Linked DNA regions of Homo sapiens: all the other regions are linked to region 2. The links are contacts of gene promoters, found by promoter capture Hi-C in blood cells and fetal thymus (Javierre and others, 2016). All regions are on one chromosome and are shown on one strand. Each heading gives the region's core, a stretch centred on a gene start or on the middle of the fragment in contact. The rest is flanking DNA. Distances are from core to core; before and after follow the strand shown.

The links. The method cuts DNA at HindIII sites, captures the fragments that hold promoters and counts their contacts. A CHiCAGO score of 5 or more calls a contact.
Region 1: a fragment that was not itself captured here is called in contact with the fragment with the promoter of CETN2 in region 2 in 2 of 17 cell types (M0 macrophages and M2 macrophages); the score reaches 6.5 in M0 macrophages.
Region 3: a contact is called between a fragment that was not itself captured here and the fragment with the promoter of CETN2 in region 2, in 1 of 17 cell types (M0 macrophages). The highest score is 5.1, in M0 macrophages.

What each region holds. Positions count from the first base shown.
Region 1 is chrX:150,730,793-150,733,492 of GRCh38, forward strand. MTMR1 (myotubularin related protein 1) reads left to right here. Exons shown (of 16, transcript NM_001306144.3): 9 at 678-827; 10 at 1,750-1,938. Among named protein-coding and RNA genes, the nearest start is that of MTMR1, 39 kb to the left of the region's middle. The HindIII fragment of the contact is 949 bases long and covers 940-1,888 here.
Region 2 is chrX:152,829,251-152,832,069 of GRCh38, forward strand. It overlaps CETN2 (centrin 2), which reads right to left and starts at 1,507. Exons shown (of 5, transcript NM_004344.3): 1 at 1,458-1,507; 2 at 352-510; 3 at 1-27. The coding sequence starts at 1,460. It overlaps NSDHL (NAD(P) dependent 3-beta-hydroxysteroid dehydrogenase NSDHL), which reads left to right and starts at 1,813. Exons shown (of 8, transcript NM_015922.3): 1 at 1,813-1,867. RefSeq lists a silencer at 1,407-1,746. The HindIII fragment of the contact is 2,163 bases long and covers 626-2,788 here.
Region 3 is chrX:150,752,452-150,755,285 of GRCh38, forward strand. All of the region lies in intron 14 of MTMR1 (myotubularin related protein 1), which reads left to right. Among named protein-coding and RNA genes, the nearest start is that of MTMR1, 60 kb to the left of the region's middle. The HindIII fragment of the contact is 6,912 bases long and covers 1-2,834 here.

The DNA of each region.
Region 1 (2,700 bases), core at 164-2,663, 2.1 Mb before region 2:
TTGTCATGTTTGTTCATCCTGTTTCCAGAGGGTGAGTGGGACTCAAGGACAAGGACGGGTTTAAAAACCAAATTTGCCAGATGGTTTTTATTAGATGTTCTGGTAAAGAATTGATGAGTAAGGATCCAAACCACTGACTACAGTTAGATTCGAAGCATGTGGTGTGACTACATCTGTCTGATCCAGTGTTCCCGGGTCTGGGAACTCTTCAGTGCATTGTCAGCTTCAAATTATTCCACTAAGATCTTATTTTCATGACGTTTGTTTCATGACGTTGTCTCTACCTTATATTTGGTATAATGTTTTACGTTACTTATTTTAGACATTCGTAAGAGGTATCTGTGTTTCTAAAGGACTTTTGAGTATATTCTCAAAAATAACAGAGCTCATTATTTATAGAAAATAGGACAAGAAATATATAGAAATGTGATTCTAGCGTATAATTTTCATGTTTTAGTATGGTTTGGATATTCTTATGCTTCTTTAGATTTTTAGAAATGTCTAGGAAATGGGTTTTACCGAATAAATATATATATTGACTTTTAAGTTACAATAAACAATAAATTATAAACGGATTTTAGTTGCAAATAAGAAATGGATGTACTTCATGCTTAGTACTTTTTCAAAGTGTAAAGTCATGCATTTCACCCTCTTCTTCTTTCTCCAACACCTTACAGGGCTTGCCAAATGAGAGTTGGAAAATATCCAAAATAAACAGTAATTATGAGTTCTGTGACACCTACCCTGCCATCATTGTTGTGCCAACTAGTGTAAAAGATGATGACCTTTCAAAAGTGGCAGCTTTTCGAGCAAAAGGCAGAGTCCCTGTAAGTAATAAACATTGTCATTTATATAGGAATATATATTGCGTTAGATCTAATATGGAGAGATTTAAGACAAAAAAGAAACTAGTGAACAAAAATGGAAAGCAGAAAAATAAGCTTATAAACCTGAACATACCTTTGATTCTCAACAAATACCTAATTATATAAACAATCTGTTTGCTATGACTCCCTCTTTTACGATTTCCTATAACTAAGTATAAGGGGAACTTCAGTCATACCCTCAAAAAGTAGTAGAGAATGACAAAGGAGTAGCAACAACAAGTTATCATGCTATTGTATTACCAGTTGGCATTGCTGGTTTCACTGAATCATCCTAGAGAAAATGCTTCTTTCTTAGATACTGAGCATGATGCCATAGCTGCGTGGGAGGGACATCATTACAGAAGTAGTAGCAGACAGCTGGGAGTAATGGTTTGAGCCCAGAGTTTGCATCTGTTGTAATCCTGAGTCACTTGGCCACTGGAGGAAAATGAGAGGTGGGGTGGCAGAGTGTCAGATTTTATAAGAGACTGTATATTCACTTTGTCCTTACCCTGCCACGTATATTATTGTTGAGATACAAAGATGTTTTTAAAATTAGGAGACAAGGTAAAATTAGTCAATCAAATTGGAATGGGGCTAGATTTTAGTAATAGTTTGATTTAGGATTTGTTTTTCTTAGAATCATAGAATATTGGGGATGGAAGGGGATTTTTAGAGCTCATGTAGTCAGAATTGTTTCATCCTGACCAAAACATTGAGTCTGATGGCCACTACAATGCTGTGATTGGCCTGCCCACTCTCACTTTTGAAGAAAATATGTATAAGAGACCGTGCTTGAGAAGGGAACTTGTTTTTCCTACCAGGTAATTAGAGCATACATTCTTTAGGAACTGTACTAATATTTATTGCTTAAAAACACTAGGTGTTGTCATGGATTCATCCGGAAAGTCAAGCAACGATTACCCGTTGCAGCCAGCCACTTGTGGGTCCCAATGATAAGCGCTGCAAAGAGGATGAAAAATACTTGCAAACAATAATGGATGCTAACGCACAGTCACACAAGCTTATCATCTTTGATGCTCGACAAAACAGTGTCGCTGATACCAACAAGGTATATTCTTAATAGCACTGCAGAAACACTGGATATTTTCATGTCCTGTCTGTAAATCATTATGCAGTTGGAATAACTCATTGATTTCCTCACCACCTGAAGTTAGAATCATTTGGAGTCCCATAGCTATTCCTCCCTGGTGTATGCTCCTTGGGCTGTGTTTGGTGTCTCACATGGGTTGGGATCTTGTCTGTTTCATTGCTTCTCTACAATATCCTGTCTGCTAAATCAATTAAGTAAAGACCTAGAAAGACAATTATCATCTAAAGGATTTAGCATTTTAATGAAATGATCGTGAGGTCCTTGGAAGTCCGTTTAAGGAATATAGTGGTTAGTTGATTAATTCATGTCTGGTCTGAATTTCTTTTAGAATGGAATCAGCCATGTGAAATGTGTAAATGTACAAAGTTTCCATAAATCTCATGGAGCACCTGTGTAGTGTACCTCGGGTGGCAGTGAGACATGGTTAAAAACACCTCCGTTCCCATGACTTTCATGATATCACACCCTGAGTTTCTCTCGCTCTTCAGCCTGGCCTTCTCCATCTCCTTCACTGATTTCTCTTCCCAGTCTTCAAATGGCATTGCTCCTCGAACTTGGTCTGGGGTCCTCTTTGCTCTACACAGACTCCTGGGGCCATCTCTGATGACACGGCTTTAAACACTGTCTGTATGCTGAGTTCAACTTGAGCTTGACACTGCAGTTTCTCTCCTGTCCTGATCCCTCCTAAGGTTGAGACTGGATTTCTATCCCATTGTATGG
Region 2 (2,819 bases), core at 257-2,756:
TTCAAAGCCCAGGGCCCTCATTGCCACCTATAAAGAAAACAGGATCGTCTCAATAAGCACATCTAAAGTAGCAGGAGCAAAAATAACAGTGTTGAGAGCATTAAGCCAGCATCTGATGTGGTCATGTTAATATGATTGGGGAACACTATGACATTGATCTAATTGATATTTGCAATCAATTTTATTGAATAATACTCAAAGTAAGTAAAGACAGGAAAACAGCACAGTACAACCTCCCCTGTTACTTACTGCAGGGAGAAGAGGGCAAAAGGGGTAGAGAGGTGATAGGGAGATGACAAGGAAGAGGCAGAGGAAAGGAAGGGCAGTACGGCAGGAATGCACAGAGCTTGCCTTCAGTTCTTTAACATCTATGGTGCCAGTTCCATCCGCATCGAAAAGATCAAAAGCTTCCCGGATCTCCTGCTTTTGCTCTTCAGTAAGCTCAGGCTTAGGGCTCATTCTTTTTCGCTGAGAACTTGATGCCATGTTTGCCTTCTTAAAGTTGGAGGCCTTTATATGTTATGCAATACACAAGCACAATAATATATCATACAGTCCATATTTACATAACATAGTTACAGACACCCATATGTATTTTTAAAGTCATTTATATAACCAATTCCAAAGCTTTGCTTAAAAAGAAAGATAACAGGGTTTACTGGCAAGAACAATGAATCTTTCCATGAACTTCTACCCCTCCCTTTTCTTTACTGTTGTTTCTAGAAGCAGGGAGATCACTTGTTCAGTAAGGACACCTCTTACTGAAAATCATCCCAAAAGAGAGCCAGTCAAGAAGATGACTGTGAATAACTAGAGATAATCAGCTCTTCCCGAACGTGGGGATCCTGGTTCTGAAAACAGTCTTACGATGCCCACTCCCAGTACTCCCCTTCCCAGTAAGTACTCCGACTTCCCAATTACTTCTAGATTTGGCCAAATATTAGTAAGTTGTTAAGATGTATATTGTGTCAGTACCGAGTAATAAAACTCAATCCATCTGGCACCTTCGTGCCTTCTCCAAGAAGCTAAAGCATCCCCTGAATGCCCCTGTATTTAAATTGTAAAAAACATTGTAACAGAACACGATACACCTTTTCCCAGCTGTGTGTGGAAATTTTGGCAGAATGAGGAGGCCAGGGGGCCAAGGTCTGAGAGAGTCAGGGGCCTGTGAGGGATTCGAGTCTTTTTTGCCCAGGGAGGTTCACCGAGGGGATCAGGGAATGCAAGGGGAGCCCGAGGGGCGGGTGTGGGCCTGTTGTGGGTGAAGAGGAGGCAGCAGCGAAGCGCAGGCCCAGTAGGTTGGTTAGCGTCTGTACCCTACTCTCCCGGGAAAGAGCTCAAAGGAAAGACTGGTGCGCTAAAGCCGAGAAAGGCGCAGGAGAGGCGGCGTGGCCGAGCTGGGGCCTGGGAAGGGCTCAGCCGCTGGGCGTGGGGCGCGACAGAGCGGCAGCACTCACCATAGCCAAAGGAGTCCGCTGCCGGTTGTTAGGCAACCGACGTGTACACTGACTCGGCGCCGTTCCCACCGCCCCGCGCGCGCAGCCCCGCTCCCCATTGGCCGTCCGCTCGTCGCCGCCTCTCCCTATTGGTGCAGGGCCGAAGAGGGTGGGACTAACCTGGCAAAGCCCCGGCCCAGCGCGGGGAGGGGCACGCTGGCGACAGAGCCCCGTCTTTATTGGGCAAGATCACGCCGTGAGCGCCAATTGGCTGAGTCGTCGCCGAGCTGGGCCAATCCTCTTGGTGGAGGAAGCTCGGCTGATTCTCGGCTCACGCGGGAGGGGAGTAAAGGGTGGCGGTCCGGGCCTGGAGTTCAGTGGGTGCAGCCTGCTTGCGAGCTGAGGCCAGACAGGGGGGCGCCTACGGACGGGTAAGAGTCGTGGCCTTGCCATTGGAGGTCACCCTGTGTCAGCGACTGGGCAGTGCGGGAGGGTGGGGAGCTACGGGGTCGCCCGGGTCGGGTGCTTTCTGGGTTGACCTAAGGCTGAGTTTAGGGACCGAGTGCATCAGAGCAGCCAGAAACGATTACCTTGCGTGTTGGAGCAGGGACTGTACTCACGGGGCAACTGAGACCCGGAGAGGGGAAGGGGTGTGCTGAGTGTTGTCGCAGAGGTCGGACGGCTGGGACCTAGGAACTGAATCCAGCCGAGGCTCGCTCTTTGAGGGTGGCCCTTCGAGAGCACCCCTAGACTGACCCAGATGTATAGGCCCCAGACCAGGTTCCAAGAGAGGATCACTTTAGATCTTACCTGGCTAAAAGCAGCCCAGGACGGTGAACTGGGGCCTTTGGGAACGGACTTTGAAAGGAGTGAGGGGGATGTGAGCGAGCATGAGGGGCGGGGAGAGGTCATCAAAATATACTCTTTTTGACACCCACACAATGCAGATAAGGAGGAGCATTCCAGGCCGAGACGCCCTCATCAGCAGAGTCACAGGAGTTTTGGAAGTGAGAGGTATGCTTGGAGAATTAAAAGGGAGCGTGTGCAAGGGCTGTGGACTGACATAGACCTGCAGAAGTGGAGCTGGAGGTCCAGTTTGCCCTCTTTAGCTATCCCCGTGGCTTTTAGCCTTCACCTGTTTTTCCTCCAGGCATAGGGGCAGTAATCTAGGGAGACAGAGGGCAGAGAGTAAGTTTCTCAGACAGAGAAAGGCCCGAGGCTTATTAGAACCTTTTAAATGGAGCTGCTGCCCTTTGCCCTCTTCTCTCTTCAGCAGTGAACAGATTCCTGACTTTTGGGTCATCATCATCCCCCCAAGTAGTACGAGCCAGAGTTCTCACTGTGATCTCCAAAGCTTGGCACGACGTGTCCCCTTCCATCGCT
Region 3 (2,834 bases), core at 255-2,754, 2.1 Mb before region 2:
CCTGCGGGCCCAGTGTGATGGGGACTTGCTAACCTCCTAATAAAAAGAAAAACATTTTTAAAAGAGTGAGTTTTGTGTTACGTGAATTATATCTCAAAGCTATTTAAAACAAATAAAATCAGAAGCAGAAGAATGAAGTTCATATATAGAATTTTAACCATGGCTTTATCTTGTTTTTTTTTTTTTTTTTTTTTTTTGAGAGGGGGAGTGCAAAATTCATTCTTAAAAAAATGAGCTCTCTTGACACATAATTTACATACCATAAAATTCACCCATCTAAAATGTACAATTTCATGGTTCTAGCATATTCACATATTGTGCAGCCATCATCAATATTTAATTTCATAAAATCTCTTTATTTCTATTTTTTGTAGCGATTGGGGTCTTGCTGTGTTGCCCAGGCTGGTCTCAAACTCCTGGCCTCAAGTGATGTTCCCGCCTCGGCCTCCCAAAGTGCTGGGATTATAGGTGTAAGCCACTGTGCCTGGCCTAAGTTTATAAAATTTCTGTCACCCCCAAAAGAAATGGCATACTTGGTAGCAATCACTTCCCATTTCCCCCACCCCTATCCCCTAGCAACCATCAATCTGCTTTCTGTCTCTACGGATTTGCCAATTCTGGACATTTCATAGAAATGGAATTATACAATAGGTGAACTTATATGACTGTCTTCCTTTGCTTAGCGTAATGTTTTCAAGGTTCATCTATGCACCAATACATCCTTTTTATGGCTGAGCAATATTCCGTTATATGGATAGACCACATTTTGTTTATCCATTCATTGGTTGATAGAAATTTGGATTGTTTCCACATTTTGGTTTTTAGGAATAATGCTACTATAACTATTCATGTACAGGTTTTTATGTGGACATACGCCTTCATTCATTTATACCTACGAGTGGAATTGCCGGGTCATGTGGCAATTATGTTTAACCTATTGAGGAACTGCCAGATTGTTTTCCAAAGCAGTTGCACACACGAGCAATGTCTGAGGCTTCCAATTTCTCCACATTTCACCAACGCTTACTATTTTCCTTTTTAAAAAAATTATAGCCATCCTAGTGAGTGGGAAGTGGTATGTTGTGGTTTTAGATTTGCATTTCCCCAACGACTAATGATGTTGAGCATATTTCCATGTGCTTATTGGCCATTTGCATATCTTCTGTGGAGAATGTGTATTCAGCTCCTTAGTTCATTTTAAAATTGTGGTGTTTGTCCTTTTTATTATGGAGTTGTAAGAGTTCCTTATACATTCTTTATATATTCAAGTCCCTTATAAGATACATGATTTGCAAAAATTTTCTCCCACTCTAGGGGTTGTTTTTTTTTACTTTCTTCATGGTGTTCTTTGAAGCACAAAAGTTTTTAATTTTGATGAACTGCAATTTATCTATTTTTTCTCTTGCTGCTTACACTTTTGGTATCATATCTAAGAAACCATTGCTTAACCCAAAGTCATGAAGATTTGCTCCTGTTTTCTTCTAAGAGCTTTATACTTTTAGGTCTTACATTTAGGTCTGTGATCTGTTCTGAGGTAACGTTTGTATACGGTGTGAATTAAGGATCCAACTTCATTCTTTTGTGTGTTGGCTATCTAGCTGTCCCAGCACCATTTGTTGGAAAGATTTTCTTTCCCTCATTCAATTTTCTTGCCAACCTTGTTGAAGATCAGTTGACCGTAAATGTCAGAGAGTTCATTTCTGTGCTTTCTATTCTGTTCCATTGATCTGCATGTCTGTCCTTACGCCAGCACTGCTGGCATTGATTACTGTAGCTTTGTGGTAAGTTTTGAAAATGGGAAGTATGAGTCCTCCTACTTTGTTCTTTTTCAGGATTATTTTAGCTATTCCAGATCCTTTGAATTTTTGTTGGTGTTTCTCTTATAAATAAATAAATGTATACAAATTGAAATGGTCCTAATTGAATGTTCCTGTATTTAGATAGCTCATGGGAAGTCAGCAGCAGAGTGGGAGAAAATGCTGTTGGCCTTGCCGTTTTCTCATTTGACTTTGTCATTGTGCTTGATCCATTGTTTAACGTTTACCTGCCTCACCATGCCTGCACATTTGGGTGTTTTTGTTCAGATGAGCAATGCAAGTAGGTACAGTGTTTCTGAATAGTGTACTACAAAATTAGGGGAAGAAGAGATAACTTAGTGATATATTTACTTGTCTTTATAGAGCTTCTCCAGCCTGCACCACAGCACATTGTCCTCCAGATAGCTATGATTTTCCAGCACAAGGAACCTTAACTGTAAAATCTATTCTCATTTCTCAATATTAAGAGTCACAGCCAGGTGAGGTGGCTCATGCCTGTAATCCCAGCACTCTGGGAGGCCGAGGTGGGAGGATCACTTGAGGTCAAGAGTTCGAAACCAGCCTGGGCAACACAGTGAATCCCCATCTCCGCCAAAAAATACAAAAATTAGCCGGGCATGGTGGCGTGCGCCTGTAGTCCCCAGCTACTCGGGAGGCTGAGGCAGGAAAATTGCTTGAACCCGGGAGGCAGACATTGCAGTGAGCTGAGATCATGCCACTGCACTCCAGCCTGGGTGACAGAGTGAGACTCCATCTCAAAAAAAAAAAAAAAAAAAGGAGTCACAAAAGCTCTATTTTCTTTTAGAGGCAGGGTCTTGCTCTATTGCCCAGGCTGGAGTACAGCGGCACAATCATAGCTCACTACAGCCTCAAACTCCTGGCCTCAAGCAATTCTGCCACCTCAGCCTCCTGAGGAGCTGGGACTATACTTGGCTAATCTTTAAATTTATTTTTTTTGTAGAGACAAAGTCTCACTGTGTTGCCCAGGCTAGTCTCAAACTCCTGCCTCAAGCAGTC